Linked DNA regions of Homo sapiens: region 2 is linked to region 1. Evidence: promoter capture Hi-C in 16 types of primary human blood cells and fetal thymus (Javierre and others, 2016). All regions are on one chromosome and are shown on one strand. The core of a region is centred on a gene start or on the middle of the fragment in contact, and the rest is flanking DNA. Distances in the headings are between cores, read along the strand shown. Region 1 holds the start of ALKBH2 (alkB homolog 2, alpha-ketoglutarate dependent dioxygenase). Region 2 overlaps PRDM4 (PR/SET domain 4).

The links. The method cuts DNA at HindIII sites, captures the fragments that hold promoters and counts their contacts. A CHiCAGO score of 5 or more calls a contact.
Region 2: a fragment that was not itself captured here is called in contact with the fragment with the promoter of ALKBH2 in region 1 in 1 of 17 cell types (total CD8 T cells); the score reaches 5.1 in total CD8 T cells.

What each region holds. Positions count from the first base shown.
Region 1 is chr12:109,091,059-109,095,568 of GRCh38, forward strand. It overlaps ALKBH2 (alkB homolog 2, alpha-ketoglutarate dependent dioxygenase), which reads right to left and starts at 2,414. Exons shown (of 4, transcript NM_001145374.2): 1 at 2,189-2,414; 2 at 1,449-1,879. The coding sequence starts at 1,728. The HindIII fragment of the contact is 3,285 bases long and covers 1,074-4,358 here.
Region 2 is chr12:107,755,020-107,759,529 of GRCh38, forward strand. It overlaps PRDM4 (PR/SET domain 4), which reads right to left. Exons shown (of 12, transcript NM_012406.4): 3 at 1,813-1,946. It overlaps PRDM4-AS1 (PRDM4 antisense RNA 1), which reads left to right. Exons shown (of 5, transcript NR_120474.1): 4 at 3,256-3,373. Among named protein-coding and RNA genes, the nearest start is that of PRDM4, 3.9 kb to the right of the region's middle. The HindIII fragment of the contact is 238 bases long and covers 2,281-2,518 here.

The DNA.
Region 1 (4,510 bases), core at 1,164-3,663:
GGCTCACACTGCTGGGGTCTCTTGTGGGCATTTCTTTTTTTAAAGAGATGGTGAGCCAGGCGCGCTGGCTCATGCTTGCAATCCCAGCACTTTGGGAGGCCAAGGCGAGGATCACTCAAGGCCAGGAGTTCAATTAACAGCCTGGGTAACACAGTGAGACCTACAGATAATTTAAAAATTATCCAGGCTTGGTGGTGTACATCTGTGGTCCCAGTTACTTAGGATGCTGAGGTGGGAGAATCACTTGAGCCCAGGCGGACGAGGCTGCAGTGAGCCAAGATCGTGCCCCTGCCCTCCAGCCTAGGTGACAGAGCGAGACCCTGTCTCAAAGCATAAAAGAATAAAGTGACGAGGGGGTCTCACTATGTTGCCCAGGCTGGACTTGAACTCCTGGCCTCAAGTGATCCTCCTGCCTCAGCCTCCAGAGTAGCTGGGATTACAGGTGTGTACCACCGTGCCTGGCCTGTGGGCTTTCGTTTTTTGTTTTGTTTTGTTTTGAGACACAGTCTCACTCTGTTGCCCAGGCTGGAGTGCAGTGGTGCGATCTCGGCTCACTGCAACCTCTGCCTCCCGGTTTCAAGTGATTGTCCTGCCTCAGCCTCTCAAGTAGCTGGGACTACAGGCATGCACCACTACGCACAGCTCATTTTTTGTTGTTGTTGTTGTATTTTAGTAGAGATAGGGTTTCACCATATTGGCCAAGCTGGTCTCGAACTCCTGACCTCAAGTGATTCGCCCGTCTCGGGCTCCCAAAGTGCTGGGATTACAGGCGCGAGCCACCACGCCTAGCTTCCTGTGGGCTTTTCTATGCCTCTCTGCCAGATCCTTGTGTCCTCATTACAGGATAGAGGTGTGGTTCTCAACATGTGCTCCCCAGACCAGCAGCACCTGGACTCTCCTTAGAAACTAAACTAAACCACAGGGGTAGGGTCCAGCAATCCAAGTCCTGCCAACAGCAAGTCCACCAGGTGATGCTGAGAACCACTGGTGTGGAGAAATTACCTGGTTATTTGCCATCTCTCCTATGAGACCAGTGATTCTCAAACCCTGACTGCCCATGAGAATCACCTGGAAGCTTTTTAAACAAACAAGTGGTCAGCCTGCACTCGGAGCGATTCTGATTGAAGTGCTCTGCAGTAGAACCCAGCACGTTTTTTTACTTTGTTTTGTAAACTTTCCCAGAAGATACTCATCAGTAGCCAAGGAGAGATTCACTCGAGTCATCTGTCAGCTCCTAGTAGACAGGCAATCCAGTTTCTTTCAAGTTTATGTCCCAAGCACCTAAGGGGCTTAGCCCAGAGGTGCTCAGAGAATATTGGATGAATCCATTAGTGAACCCATCAGTAAATAATGGATCCTGAGTTCAGATTTCTCCAAACATACGATCATTAATTGCACCAAACAAGCCCTCAATGCACACACACACACACACACACCCCTCTGCTTACCTGTAAAATATTCTACTTCTTTCTCCAACTCTTGGAAAATCTCATCTGCCTCAGCTTTGCCAAACAGGACTGTGTAACTGCAGTCCAGGCCCTCAGCCCGAATGTGCCGCCAGCTAGGGCCTGCTGAGTGGCCTCCATTCCCTGGGGCCTCTCTCCTGGGCCTCTTCCTTGTGCTTTCTTTGTCTCCTCCCAACACAGCTGGCTCTTCTCCAGTTGGCTCTTGCTCCTCCTGCTTCCTCAAAAGGCCCCCTTGAGCCCCTTTCACCAGGAATCTGTCCATCCTGTCCCCACAGGAAAGAAGGGACGTCAGTGGCGAGGCCAAGACAGAAATTGCTCAAGTTCTATCCCCAGTGCAAAAATCTGTTTGTCCAAGGGGTCTCACAGCAACATTCCTAGTTTCACATTTTCATTTTAAAGTTTAAAACCATGTCCTAGAAAGGAAACAGAAGATGTTAAAGCCGGAAGGGACCCTAGGGACAATCTGATCCAGGGTCTCCCACGTCCACCTGTGCATCAGAATCAGCTGGCTAGCTTGCAAAAACCCAGAGGTCTGCACTCCACGCCTGAGCACCTGAATTTTTAAAGAACTACCTCCTGGGAATTCGCACGCCACAGCTAAACTTAGAAACTACAATCCAAACCCTCATTTTGCAGAAGGGGAAACTGTTGCCCACAGAGGCGAAGAGGTTTGCCCAAAGTCAACTGTCCACCCCTTTAAGGAGGAAGGACCCATAACTGACCTCGCTGCCCCCCACCAGTGTTAAAATAGATCAGTCTAGTGATGCTCAAGTGGATACGATTCAGAAGCGAGACGCAAAGAGGTTAAACACGGGTAAACCGCACGCAAAATTCTGATATCACTGCAACACGTCCGTGGGGTGGGGGTGGCAAGAGTGCTCTAGCATCGCAGCTCCGGCGCAGATCGGAATCCCGCAGTCACCCTGGTGGCCTCGTGGTGGGAAAGACGCGCCCCAGCGAATCGGTCGCGTCACTTCCGGAGCACGCTGGGAACTACGGCAGGCTAGGGCGCAAAGAGAGCAGCCGGGCGGCCCCCTGGTGCCACCTGCTGGCCTCCCGTGTGTGGCAAGCACTGCCGCTTTCCCGTTGATCACCTGTTGGGCCACTGTCGAGAATCACGGCTGGGGTGAGAACTGTGGCTTGGCGTCACTTCTCAGTGAGGGTTACTTTGGTGTCCGGAAAGGGCGTTGGGCCACCAGTATATTGTCACGAGTGGGAGCAGGAGTTCTGCAGTCGGATATCGTGGATTCTGTTTCTGTCTCCTCCGCCCTGGCTGTGTGGCCTCCCACAGGTCACTTAACCTCTCTGGGGTTAAGTTGCCTCATCTGTGAAGTGCGGACTACAGCACCTATGTCATGAGAGCGCCTGAGGAGATGACAGGATGCATGAGAAATGCTCTGTCCTCTAAATAAATGTTGGTTCCATTATTGCTCGTTTTTCTTTGTTTTCTTGTTTTTTGATGTTGTTCTTGTTTGTTTTGTTTTTTTGAGACAGGATCTCACTCTGTTGCCCAAGCTGGAATGCAATGGCATGATCATAGCTCACTGCAGCCTTGAACTCCTGGGTTAGAGCGATCCTCCCGTCTCAGCCTCTGGAGTAGCTGGGACTACAGGCACATCCCACCCCACCCTAAATAATTTTTTTATTATTTTTAGTAGAGATAGGGCCTTGCTATGTTGCCCAGGCTGGTCTCAAGCTCCTGGGCTCAAGTGATCCTCCCACCTGGGCCTCCCAAATTGTTGGGATTACAGGCGTGAGCCACCACGACCGGCTCCTAATTTTTATTTACTCTGTCTCCCCTCAATGGAACGAAAGCTCCATGAGATCAGAGGCTTTGTTTTGACAGATTTCAACAAATGTACAATATTGTATGATCACCACCACAATCAAGATCTAAGACAGTTCCGTCCCTCCATAAAACTGCTCCAGCCTCTTAATCAACTTCGCCCATCACCCAGCATCAGCAACCACTGATCTGTCTTCTCTCCCTATAGTTTTGCCTTTTCCAGAATTTCATATACAGGGAATTGCCGTGGTTTGAATATCTGTTCCTCCAAAATCCGCGTTGAAATTTAATCCTCAGTGTGGCAGTATTGAGAGGTGGGGCCTTGAAGAGGTGATTGGGACATGAGAGCTCTGTCATAATGTCCTCATAAATGAATTAATAGATTAATGGGCTCAGGGGTTAATGGGTTAATGGGTTACCGTGGGAGTGGGACTGGTGGCTTTATAAAAGGAAGAAGAGAGACCTGAGCTAGCACACTCAGGCCCCTCGCGATGTGATGCCCTACACGGCTTCAGGACTCAACAGAGTCCCCACCAGCAAGAGGGTTTTCACCAGATGCAGCCCCTCAACCTCGGACCTCTCAGCCTCTATGAGAAATGCCTTTGTGGGACTTCTTTCACTTAAGCATATTGCTTTTAAGATTCATTTATGCGCCCCCCCACCTCCCCGCTTTTTTTTGTGAGACAAGGTCTGGCTCTACTGCCTAAGCTGGAGTGCAGTTGCATGATCTCGGCTCACTGCAACCTCCACTTCCCAGGCTCCACTCCCACCTCAGCCTCCCAAGTAGCTGGGACTACAGGCATGCACCACTACACCCGGCTAATTTTTGTATTTTTTGTAGAGATGGGTTTTTGCCATGTTGCCCAGGCTGGTCTCCATAGTCTTCAGCTGGTGAGCTGAAGAAATCCGCCTGCCTTGGCCTCCCAAAGTGCTGGAATTGCAGTCATGAGCCGCTGTGCCCAGTCGTATATGCACATTTGTATTACTTATTTGTTCCTTTTTATTACTGGTATAGAAGGGATGCCCCACAGGAGTAGGCCCCACATAGGGTTGTTTCTCTGATTTTAGGTTACTATGAGTAAAATCACTATAAACATTCACATACAAGCTTTGTGAATATAGTTTTTCATTTCCCTTGGGTAAATAATGCCTAGGTGTGGGAGTGCTGGGTCATAGTGGCTCTAAGGGCAAATGATTTTCAGCTTTGAGCCTCTCTCCCTTAGACTTCAGCTTCTTGTCCTAGGCACTGGGACACACC
Region 2 (4,510 bases), core at 1,150-3,649, 1.3 Mb before region 1:
GGGCTAAGTATCATAATAAATACCCACCAACTTGGTCAGTGCTGATTTGCATATTTTTGCCAGGGGCAATATTTTTTTTTTTTGAGACAAGGTTTTGCTATGTTGCCCAGGTTGGAGCGTAGTAGCATGACCATGGCTCAGGCAACCTGAGCTTTCCTGGCTCAAGTGGCCATCCCTTCTCAGCCTCCTATGTAGCTCCTACGTAGCTGGGACTACGGGTGTGTGCCACCATGCGCTGCTAATTTTTTTTTTTTTCTTTGTAGAGATGGGGTCTCCTTATGTTACCTAGGCTGATCTTGAACTCCTGGGCTCAAGTGATCCTCCTGCCTTGGCCTCTCAAAATGCTGGGATTATAGGCGTGAGCCACTGTGCCTGGCTGGCAATATTTTTTAACAGGCTTTTCCACCTTAACAAGAGTGTCCACTAAAGGGAATGCCTACAAACAATCAAGTGGGTTAACCACTAATAATTTTTTAAGATTTCTTTTGTGGACACTTAAACAAATGTGAAGAGACCCTAGTTTCAATGAATCTTATTTAACTGCTGCATTTTATTAATTAAGCAAGTAATTCTCTTTAGAGAACTATTTAAACAATATATAGATTTATTTATACTAACTCCTACTGTGACAAAGAAAGTCCAATACATAACAATGTCATTGATCCTAAAGAACTGACAGCTTATCATTGTAATAATCAATAGAATATTTATTCCATTTATATTCTATTTCAATAGAATAAGAAAATGAAGCTAGGCAGAAAAAAGGTTTTAAAAGTACAGTGACGGCTGGCGCGGTGGCTCACACCTAAAATCCCAGCACTCTGGGAGGCCGAGGAGGGCGGATCACCTGAGGGCAGGAGTTCGAGACCAGCCTGGCTAATATGGTGAAACCCCGTTTCTACTAAAAATACAAAAAATTAGTTGAGCATGGTGGCGTGTGCCTGTAGTCTCAGCTACTCGGGATGCTGAGGCAGGAGAATTGCTTGAACCCGGGAGGCGGGCGGAGGTTGCAGTGAGCCGAGATCGTGCCATTGCACTCCACCTTGGTCGACAAGAGCGAAACTCCATCTCAAAAAAGAAAAAAAAGAAAATGAGCCAGGTGTAGGGGTGCATGCCTATAATCCTAGCTACTCAGGAGGCTGAAGCAGGAGAATCACTTGAACCCGGGAGGCGGAGGTTGCAGTGAGCCGAGATCGTGCCCCTGCACTCCAGCCTGGATGACAGAGTGAGACTCCATTTCAAAAAAAAAAGGATAGGAAGAATGAATTTTTCCTATACGATTTTGCTGTGTATGGAGGCTCATGAGGCGTTCCATGTAAAAGCCCCAGGTAAAAGTACCACACTTCTTTCCACATTAATTCTAGACCTGGTACACTTGCAGTTATTGCCATTTAATTTCAAACCTGGTGGAATATAAAGCCCAATTCCCCATGCTCTCTGGGAATAGTTATTAGAGTAATTTTAACTGATTCTCTTCTATTAACCCAGGGAACGGGTACTGAAGTGTGAACCAGATGAATGGGCAGCCCTAAATAAAATGCCAAGTTAATTACAGCTCTGGACAAAAAGCTACCAACTCAGAAGAGGACTATCAGAAAAAATTGCTGCTACTATCCACTAGAATTCTAATACTCTACCTCTACAAAAACCTTATTTTCCATTACCTATCACATGTTGAACCACCATTCAGGCCTGCTTACCTTCTCCCTTCTACCTTCTACCCTTAAAGGGGCTCTGATCTCTTCTAGACTCCATTTAGAATTGATAACAGAGTTAAGTGTTGAAATGCAGTAGGTCTCCCTTACCACTCACCTGGGGCAGGGATGGCACTGTGAGTGGGTGAGGCAGCCAATCCCAGGTGACTTCCTGAGACTGGCAAGGCATTGCTCACAGAGGATGAAGTCAGCTGCTCCATCCCCACTGGACTCAGGTTCATTTCATTCATCCTAGAAAAGAGCACACACAACTAGTTATGCAAAAATTTACTCCAATGACTCTGTATTAAGATACTGAAGAAACTGAAACAGTGGGGATGGGGAAATGGGACTTGGCCAACTATTAGTTCACTTTTACGCTCAACAATTCTCTTAGATAGCTAGTGCCATATTCTTTCTACTGATAAGAAAACTGAGATTGAGACATTAAAAACTCAATTCAATGTCACATAGCAGAAATAGGATTTGAATTCTGCCTTGTTCGAAACTCTAGGCACACCATCTAAAGCAAAGTCTGCAATTCTTAGAGCACAATGGCAATGACAGTTTTTTTTTAAATCACTCAAGCTTCATCTTTTATAATATTTATTTTTCTCCAAATGGCTTATTATTTCAAACCAGTAGTGTTTTAGGCAGCGCATTTTAACCTACTCAAGTAAATTTTACTAATCATTTTTAATAGGAGTTAAAGATCCAGATTATCGATGATGTGAAAAGCATCGTATTTTCCCCATTCAGCAACAGTTTACTAAGATTCTGTATCAGTATATTAATGTCCTCCAAATATTGAGGGTCATTATGTAAGCTTTGCTACCACTTCACTTAAAATGACTTCAAATCCTCACACCAATACTGCAACGTAAGATAGATGAGGGAACTATGGCTCAGAGAGGCCATGTCATATGCCCCAAATCACATAGCTATTAAGTGAAAGATCACAGATCAAACTGCAAAACACTGCCAAAAAGTTTTTCATTGCACCAAACTTTTTTTTAACTGCACCAAACTTTTTTTTTAACTACAGACTATTTTTGGCAAGGTGAAGAACCTAGGAATCACCTTTTCTATGCAAACCATCTTGCACTGCCATTACAAATGTCTTTCGAATAAGAGTAATACTGATTTGAATAAAACAGCACTGAAGGTTGTTATCAAAAAGTATTAGTTCTTATATCATAATTTAGAGACTGCCATACTATAAACATTACAGAACCACTAGGCTAGCCAACAGGTTACCCAAAAGGGGCTCTCTAATGACCTCCAGTCCTTACACTGGGCTTTATTCTCTGCGTATGGGAGGGGGTGAAGCAGAGAAGAGGAATCAAATGAGGTTACATATTCCTTAGCAGTGAAATCAAATCTAAATAGGTTTTTAATTCTGAAAAATGGCAATGCCATTTTATCAATCAACCTGAAAATAATAATAGCTAAAATTTATGGCTCCCTTACCATGTGCTATGTATTGGGCTAAGTGATTTATATGTAACTATCTCTCTTAATCTTCTTTTTTTTTTTTTTTTTTTTTTTGTTTTTGAGACAGGGTCTTGCTCAGTAGCTGCAAGCTGGAGTGCAGTGGCGTGATCACAGCTGACTGCTGCCTCTACCTCCTAGGCTCATGAGATCTTCCCACCTCAGCCCCCAAGCAGCTGGGACCACAGGCAAGTGCCACCATGCCTGGCTAATTTGTTTTTATTTTGCAGAGATGGGGTCTCCCTATGTTGCCCAGGCTGGAGGTAGGTATTATTCTTAATCCCACTTTAAAGATGAGGAAACTTAAGATTCAATGATGCTAGGAAACTTAACCCAGAATCACATAACCAGTAAGGAGAGCTGGGATTTAAATTCAGAACTAATTTAAGAAACCAAAGCTCTTAACTATAGTAAGAAAAAGACAATTACAATAAAAGAACTATATTGCCTTTTACACAGTTGCAATACATTAGGGCCTATCTACTTATATTGTGGCGTATATTTAAAGTTCCACATAGACCTGTTTCTTGCATTATTAGGTTTCACCCTTATCCCTGGCCATGGATCCCATAAAACTAAGCTCTAAGACATCAATAAAATGTAAAAGGCCAACCTAGTACCTTGTATAGAACAGACATTCTGAATTTTCTTATTTTATCGGATGGAGCTATGCAAACTCATCACCCTTACCAGAAAGACAGCTAGAAGCACCTGGCAAATGAGGTACACCTTATGAAGAACAGCATGCTAATAACAGTTTTTATTATGCTATAAAATAAAGCAGCCCAGGTGTGGTGATTTACACCTGTAATCCCACACTTTGGGAGGCCAAGGCAGAAGGATCGCTTGAGCCCAGGACTTGGAGACGTCCCTAGGCAACACAGTGAGACCCCTGTCTCTACTAAACATTTTTTTTAACTTAGCCAGGCATGGTGGTTCGTGCTTGTGGTTCCAACTACAGGGGAGGCTGAAGTGGGGAGGTCGGGGCTACAGTGAGCTCTGCCTGTACCTCTACACGCCAGCTGGGGTGACAGAGTGAGACTGTGTCTTAAAAACAAAAAAAGCAAAAAATCCCTGTAGCCTAAAGAAAACATATCTACCTTAATTTTGAAAGTTGCTGGGCTTGAGTTGGTTTAAAACAGACTTTTCCCTAACTCTTTATAGCTACAACCATAATTAAAACACTACAATCACTACAGCTGTAACAGCCTACTTAACAAATTGGTTACAATATTTTTTTAAAAGTACAACTACAAGTCTGCACCTTCAACTCTCATTCTGAAAATTCCTGAATATTTATTTAATTTCAAGATAAAAATCAGCAT